3 separate regions of the Homo sapiens genome follow, and regions 2 and 3 are each linked to region 1. Evidence: promoter capture Hi-C in human tissues and cell types (Jung and others, 2019). All regions are on one chromosome and are shown on one strand. The core of a region is centred on a gene start or on the middle of the fragment in contact, and the rest is flanking DNA. Distances in the headings are between cores, read along the strand shown.

Region 1 (2,573 bases), core at 33-2,532:
AGGGTGAGATGATGATTATGTGATGCACTAAGTTTGAGCTCTAGGGAAAGATCTAATATAGATCTGAAAGTCATCTATATAGTTAACTTCAATGTATGACATTGTCCAAAGCAAATATGGAACATGTGAAAAAGCACAAGGTCAAAAATTAGAACATGGCACGAACACAGTAAAGAGAAGAAAATGAGCTGTTGCAAGACAGGAAAACAATCATGGATGTTCCAAAAGAAATAAAAGCAGGTGGTGAATGTGTCAAACGCTCCAATGATCAAGTAAACAACTTACACTGGATTTAGCAAATTTATATATTTCCTTGATTTTTTTCACACATTAATGCTTCAGAAATCAGACTGTATCTTATAATCAAGAGGTGCCTGAAATGAATTTCTTTATTCCCTAAAGCCAGTCACAAAACTGATAGTGTGGGCTGATAATCAATGGTATTTGAGAAGCGAGAAAGCATGGTAGTGGTAAAGAAGTTGAACCAGTATATGTGGTCTATTTTTTCCAGGAAGTTTTCAAGTAAAGGCAAGAGTCAAGAAAGGAGGTCCTGTGTTTGCTTTTTAAAAACCGTTTTACTATGAGACAAACGTATTTGAAAGCAAGGAAGTTAGAAGAAACTTTAAAACGATAAAGGACACATGCCATGACAAGCACAATTAGCAGAACAAAAAAGGATGCACTCGCGGATACAGGTGCAATCAAACACCATTCAAGCAACGATTCCTAGGCACCCGCTCCCGTTCTGGAACCCGAGGCAGCGCGGTGCCCACGGATTGGGCAGTCAGCCGCACAGTCCCCTCCGAGTGCGGCAGGAAGAGAGACAGAGTTGACAGTGGATTATCCGCGGAGACGGGTAAAACCACGCCAGGATTCCCTGCGGTTTGGTACATTACACCAGAATCAAAAAGAGACAAGAGTAAGGCCAAGTACCCCCGAGGCGGACATATGCTCCCGCCCGCTGCGTCCCTCGGCGGTCCCACCCCTCGCTTTCCGTACCGCCGCTGAGGGCCCGGCCCGCACGCCTGGACCGGAGCCGGACCTGGGGGCGGTACCCCACTGCGCGGGCTTGCTCCACGCGCGCAGACGGGACCCGCCACCACCTAGCCCTTCACCCCCAACGCCCACCCTCTCTCACCCCAGCACAACGGGGCCAGCCCCGCGCCGGCCCGCCGCTTCCCCGCAACGCGGGAAACGGCGCGGCGCCCACTCCCGCCCCAGAGCCTACCTTAGAGCCCCGAGCGCGGCTGCCGCGGGGCATCTCCGGGAGCGCCGCCTGAGCGCACCGCCTCCTCAGCGCGCCGCCGTCCCACCTCGGCGCGCCGCACCGCGCCCTGCCATTGGCGGGCGCTCGGGCGCAGGGCGGGGCTTCGGCGGGGGGCAGGGCTTCTCCGGCCCCGGCGCTCCAGGGCCTCCCGGATGGCCTAGTCGGGCCCGGAGCCCGGAAGGAGTGCCCCGCGGAGAGTCGAGCTTCCTTCCCCGGGGCTGGGGGTTCCGCGGAGCTCGCTCTGGGCTGTGGCGTTGCTCGCCCGCGAGCTCCTGGGGAGTTCGGGGGAGCTGCTGGGCTGGTGCCTGGAGCGGGGGCCGCCTCCAAGTATTGTCTTTCGAATTAAGTTACTGTCGTCTGTGTTGTCAGGCAACAACTGACCTTAAATAAAAATGAAAACCAGAAGTAGGCTACACATGCAATAGGCTACACATGCAATAATGGATACTTAAGGAATGGGAGTGGCTGCTGGTGACTGGAGCAGAGAGGGTGTGGTTTCCCCATGTTTCGGGGCCGGGGGGAAGGAGTAAAGTCTGTGTTCAGAGCCCAGACGCCATGTCGGTCATCACATCACCGGGAGAACTCGTGGAGCCTGAGGAAAGGCTACGGGGTGCCAGAGTCTGAAGGGGCGGAAGATTGCATTCCTATCACGTTCGCCGTGGCGCACAGGGGCTCCGCTGGGGCCGCCGCTCCCGCAGGAGAAGTGGGCCTGAGACGGTGCGGCGTCGACCATAGCCGGCCCAGCAGAAGCCGGGGAAGGCCACAAGTGTAACTGGGTCCGAGTACTGTGAAGAAGGCGCCTCCCATGGAGAAAGCTACCGGGTAGTTTAACAAGGTGGAAAAGCGTTGGCCTGGGGAGGAGGAAAGGATGCTCAGAAAGTTGCCTCAAAAGGACGCAGAAGTGGAGGTGAATCTTCTGTTTCAGAGGCATTTTTTTGTGCCTCTGTGAGAATGCATTGCTTCCTGGTTGATCCATCTTCAGGTTTTCTCTCCGTCCTAGTCCCTGTTCTGCCACCATTCTGTGTTTGAATCTGGTACCTAAAGCCGCAGATACTTGGTTCATAGTAGATGTCCACTCTGCAGTGGCTGAAAACACGGAAGAAAAACCATCTTTGCCTGGGAAGGACATTATTGCTAGTGCCATTACTGTCAACAGTTGGAACAAGATAAACGGCATGCCCAATCTAGTTGAGGATTTTGGACACCGGGCCTCCCACTGGGACTCCGCCGAGAAACCAGGTCTGCCATTGCCACCTCCGCCGGGCCTTGCTGTCTTAGCACAGTAAGTGCACCCGACCGCGCCCGG
Region 2 (2,573 bases), core at 44-2,543, 560 kb before region 1:
ACCGTGTTAGCCAGGATCCGCCCGCCCCGGCCTCCCAAAGTGCTGGGATTGCAGCCATGAGCCACCACACCCGGCCTTAGCCTTTTTTTTGATATGTCATGGCCATTGTTCTAACCATGTTATAGTGAACATAATCCAGGGACAATGGAACCAGTATAGGGGTATGTAGGTGATCTCTTTCCTGAGTCTATGCAGAATGTAGCTCTCCCTCTTCCCTGACTCTGGGGCCATGAGCTGCTGCTCCATCACCTACCTACCCACCCACCTTTACTGCTGATTTATTACCCCTAACATTCTGTAATCAGGGCAATAAGAGAGCTGCATCTACTAGATTTTATTGAATTCAGAATTCATAAGCTCTAGGAGAGAACCTGTAGGGCTCTTTTGATGTAAATGCAAGAGGCTTAGTACCCAGAAGGGAACTGAACAGCAGGAGAACTAAGGAGGGAGCAGTCCTTGGCTGGCTGGTTTAGGAAGAAATAACATTTGGGTTGAGACTGCAAGATGGAAAGAAATTTCCTGGAGGAAGGGAACAAACCCCATAAACACTTTGAGAATATCATGGACTGGGAAGCTTGATTGAAAGGGTCAAGCCAGAATTTTGTTAAGGTAAAGAGATGAATGAATGCTCCAACAAATTGAGATGGTCCATAGAACATGGATTAAACATGGCATCAGTAGTCAGGATTATTTTTTCTTTTGCTTCTGGGTTTTTTGGAGCTAGACAAGGATTCCAAATGGTTCGCCTGTAGATATTATAATGGATTAATACTGGAGAACCTTATGTAATGACACATCTTATACACTGTGAACCTTTGATATTTTCAGATTCCACCTTTTTTTTTTTTTTTTTTTTTTTTTGAGGCGGAGTCTTGCTGTTGCCCAGGCTGGAGTGCAGTAGGGTGATTGGTTCACTGCAACCTCCACCTCCTGGGTTCAAGCAGTTCTCTGCCTCAGCCTCCCAAGTAGCTGGGACTACAGGCATGCGCCACCATGCCCAGCTAATTTTTTGTATTTTTAGTAGAGACGGGGTTTCACCATGTTGGCCAGGCTGATCTGAACTCCTGACCTCAGGTGAGCCGCCACGCCCGTCCCAGATTCCACTTTAAATGCACATCTGAATAATTTCTGGCTTATGTATGATTAAAGTTATAAAACCTAAGGGCAACTTCATAGTTTCTTAAATTTTATATTTTTAGCAAAATTAAAGTAACACTTTATGTCTCTTGTTAATATAATGTGTGGCAACTTGATTTACTATCATTTCATTAGAATAAATACTTTTAAAATACTGGAGTGTTCATTGATTTGGCCTTTTTGATTTGTTTTGTAGGCTGTATAGATCAATTGGAGAATACGACGTCCTCCGTGGGATTTTTACCAGTGAGATAGGAACAAAGCAAATCACTCAGAGTGCATTATTAGCAGAAGCCAGAAGTGATTATTCTGAAGCTGCTAAGCAGTATGATGAGGTAAAATTGATCTCTGGCAAAATATGACATTTACTTCAACACTTTTGTTTTCTGCTGAACTATGACTTTAAGCAAAACGAGGTACAGCAGATCCTTGTTGGTTCAATGTCTTTTCGTTACAATGTTGATGAGGAAGAAAATTGGTTTCCTTATAGGTTGTTCACTTAAGTTAGGGCCTACCATACTATGAAACTGTATATTATTTCTCTGCTCTTACACAGTTTCTGTTTGAATAGGTTGTTTTCTTTCAGTTAGTTAAAAAAAAAAATTATAAAGAAATTGTATTAGGCTGTTCTTGCATTTCTGTAGAGAAATACCTGACACTGGGCAATTTATAAAGAAAAGAGGTTTAATTGGTTCACGGTTCCACGGGCTGCACAGGAAGTATGGTGCTGCCTTCTGCTTGGCTTCAGGGGAGGCCTTGGGAAGCTTTTATGCATTGGTAGAAGGCGAAGCAGGAGTAGGCATTTCACATGGTGAAAGGCAGTAGCAAAAGAGAGACAGTTGGGGAGGGGGTGCCATATACTTTTATTTATTTAGAGGCAGAGTCTCATTCTGTCACCCAGGCTGGAGTGCAGTGGCACTATCATGGCTCCCAGGCTCCGGCGGTCCTCCCACCTCAGCCACCTGAGTAGCTGGGACTTCAGGCATGCACCAACATGCCTGGCTAATTTTTGAAATTTTTTTGTAGAGATGAGGTGTCACTATGTTGCCCAGGCTGGTTGGGAACTCCTGAGCTCAAGCCATCATGCCTGGGCCTCCCAAAGTGCTAGGATCACTCATCACCAAGGGAATGGCCCACTTCATTCATGAGGGATCTGCCCCCCATTGATCCAAACACCTCTCACCAGGCCCCACCTCTGACATTGAGGATTACATTTCAACATGAGGTTTAGGTGGGGACACATATTCAAATTACATCAGAGGTAAAGAAGAATTTGGGAAGATGAATATAAGTTCAGTTTTGTACATTCCGTCAGTGGCTATTCAAGTGTAGGTGTTGAAATTCAGGGTCTGTGACCTGTGAGACTCTTCAATGAGCAGTCCAGGTTTTGTTTGTTTGTTTGTTTTTGAGAGTCTCACTCTGTCGCCCACGCTGGA
Region 3 (2,573 bases), core at 29-2,528, 520 kb before region 1:
TTACAGGCGTGCACCACCATGCCCAGCTAATTTTTGTATTTTTAGTAGGGATGGGATTTCACTATGTTGGCCAGGATGATCTTGATCTCTTGACCTCGTGATCCGCCCCCATTGGCCTCCTAAAGTACTGGGATTACAGGCCTGAGCCACTGCGCCCGGCCTACAGTTTTATAACCTAAGAATTTTCATCTCAGTTTAAACTAGGAGGAGAGAATTTTAAGATGGAGTGGACTACTTTTAAAGCTAACTTTAATAGCAACTCAGAAAAGATTTCACCTGAAGTGATTGAATTGCTAAGTCACACGTGAAACTGTTCTGTCTTTAGATTTTATCGGGAAAACTTGTTAAAGCTTTCCACACAAAAGTACTTAAACATACGTGTATCACATTGTTTCCCATTGCCCAGGTACTGCCTTTTTCCTAGGAAACACTGAAAACAGCTTTTCAAGTTCACTTAAACATCCATTGTCATTTAAGAAAATATTTTCTCATAGGAGTGCAGAAGCCTTATTGGAAGAAAAAAGAAAAACAAAATATTTTCTCATACTTACTATGGATTGTGTGTATATCTACCTATTGGAAATATAAAGAAAGATGTGGCACTGGCTGGGCGCAGTAGCTCACGCCTGTAATCCCAGCACTTTGGGAGGCCAAGGTGGGCGGATCGCCTGAGGTCAGGAATTCGAGACCAGTCTGGTCAACATGGCAAAACCCTGTCTCTACTGAAAATAGAAAAATTAGCTGGGTGTAGTGGCGGGCGCCTGTAATCCCAGCCACTTAGGAGGCTGAGGCATGAGAATTGCTTGAACCCAGGAGGTAGAGGTTGTAGCAAGCCGAGATTGCACCAATGCACTCCAGCCTGGGCGACAGAGTAAGACTCTGTCTCAAAAAAAAAAAAAAAAAAAAGACAAAACAAAACAAAAGAAAAAGAGGCCAGGCGTGGTGGCTCACACCTGTAATCCCAGCACTTTGGGAGGCCGAGGCGGGCGGATCACGAGGTCAGGCATTCGAGACCAGCCTGGCCAACGTGGTGAAACCCCGTCTCTACTAAAAATACAGAAATTAGCTGAGCATGGTGGCATTTGCCTGTAATCCCAGCTACTCAGGAAGCTGAAGCAGGAGAATCACTTGAATCCATGAGGCAGAGGTTGCAGTGGGCCAAGATCGCACCACTGCACTCCAGCCTGGCGACAGAGCTAGACTCCCATCTCAAAAAAACAAAAGAAAAAGATGTGGAAGTGGTCTAAATAAAGATAAAAACAGACATAATCCATCTTTAGCAAAACTGTGCGGGCTTTTTGGCTATGGTAGTGACATGGCCTGAGGCTTCCAGCAGCCGCCTGTGGTGCTGTCGCCCTCTTGCTATGGTTCTTTCTAGGTCAAAGTTTCAGAATTGCATGCCTGGTTAATAAACAGTTATGTTTAGTTCATCTTATTCCTCTCTATGTCAGTGGGAAATTTGTTGGATCTGATGGTTTTGTACCTGAATTTTTCATAGGCAATAGCTTGGATTTCTTTAGGAGTAATTAAGAATGAATAATGGTATATTGAAATTCAAGATCCAGAGTAATGTGGGTTCAATGTTAATATTGAATATGGTTAAAAGTCTTATTATTTTTTCCTGCCTCTTTGCTATTTTTCAATGAATTCTTGGTGATCTTTGCCTTTGAAATCACATAATGCTAAAATCTTCCTAATTCCAATTCCCCTTTTCTCACTCATTAGTGATCCCAGGGCACCGCCGTGTGAATATAAAGATTGGCTGACAAAAATGTCAGGAAAACATGATGTTGGAGCTTACATGCTAATGTATAAGTAAGTTTGGTTTTGATTTTTCTTTGTATTAGTTAGTTCATTCTTCTGCAAATTGCATGTTTTCTTTTGATTCTTAGCTTTGCCTCAGAGAGATCATCAAGATTATTCGATATTTGAGTCTCAATATAAACAAAAAGTTTTAAAATTTAAATTTTAAGTCAGAGAAATTTTTTCTAATTAGATGTTTCTATTATTAAATCATAGGGGCGCTAATCGTACTGAAACAGTCACGTCTTTTAGAAAACGAGAAAGTAAAGTGCCTGCTGATCTCTTAAAGTAAGTACCCTTCTGCCCTCACCCTTAGTGGGATCACAGCAGCCGCACAGCTGTGTCTCTTTTGTAGGCGGGCCTTCGTGAGGATGAGTACAAGCCCTGAGGCTTTCCTGGCGCTCCGCTCCCACTTCGCCAGCTCTCACGCTCTGATATGCATCAGCCACTGGATCCTCGGGATTGGAGACAGACATCTGAACAACTTTATGGTGGCCATGGAGACTGGCGGCGTGATCGGGATCGACTTTGGGCATGCGTTTGGATCCGCTACACAGGTGCACTTGCTGTGCTCTCGTGATCCTGGGCAAGGCGAGAGTCATCATAGGACTTTCAACAACCTCCAGAAATAGACAGTTTTTAAGGAAAAACAACATATTAGTTAGATTCGTTTTGTCATGGTCATTGAATGCAGAAAGGGATAATCACTTAGTTCAGCCTCATTCAGTCAGGTCACAGAAGTCATGGTGATCAGTGATATCATCAGAGCC

The links. The method cuts DNA at HindIII sites, captures the fragments that hold promoters and counts their contacts. A contact is called where the count stands out against the background at its distance.
Region 2: a fragment that was not itself captured here is called in contact with the fragment with the promoter of SPIDR in region 1 in 1 of the 25 tissues and cell types used here (spleen).
Region 3: a fragment that was not itself captured here is called in contact with the fragment with the promoter of SPIDR in region 1 in 1 of the 25 tissues and cell types used here (dorsolateral prefrontal cortex).

Annotation. Positions count from the first base shown.
Region 1 is chr8:47,259,647-47,262,219 of GRCh38, reverse strand. SPIDR (scaffold protein involved in DNA repair) reads right to left here and starts at 1,282. Exons shown (of 20, transcript NM_001080394.4): 1 at 1,229-1,282. The coding sequence starts at 1,261. RefSeq lists a silencer at 1,019-1,568. The HindIII fragment of the contact is 26,545 bases long and covers 1-2,573 here.
Region 2 is chr8:47,822,757-47,825,329 of GRCh38, reverse strand. It overlaps PRKDC (protein kinase, DNA-activated, catalytic subunit), which reads left to right. Exons shown (of 86, transcript NM_006904.7): 64 at 1,334-1,472. Among named protein-coding and RNA genes, the nearest start is that of CEBPD, 86 kb to the right of the region's middle. RefSeq lists an enhancer at 1-48. The HindIII fragment of the contact is 5,482 bases long and covers 1-2,573 here.
Region 3 is chr8:47,778,246-47,780,818 of GRCh38, reverse strand. PRKDC (protein kinase, DNA-activated, catalytic subunit) reads left to right here. Exons shown (of 86, transcript NM_006904.7): 81 at 1,726-1,815; 82 at 2,020-2,091; 83 at 2,159-2,360. Among named protein-coding and RNA genes, the nearest start is that of CEBPD, 41 kb to the right of the region's middle. The HindIII fragment of the contact is 6,770 bases long and covers 1-2,573 here.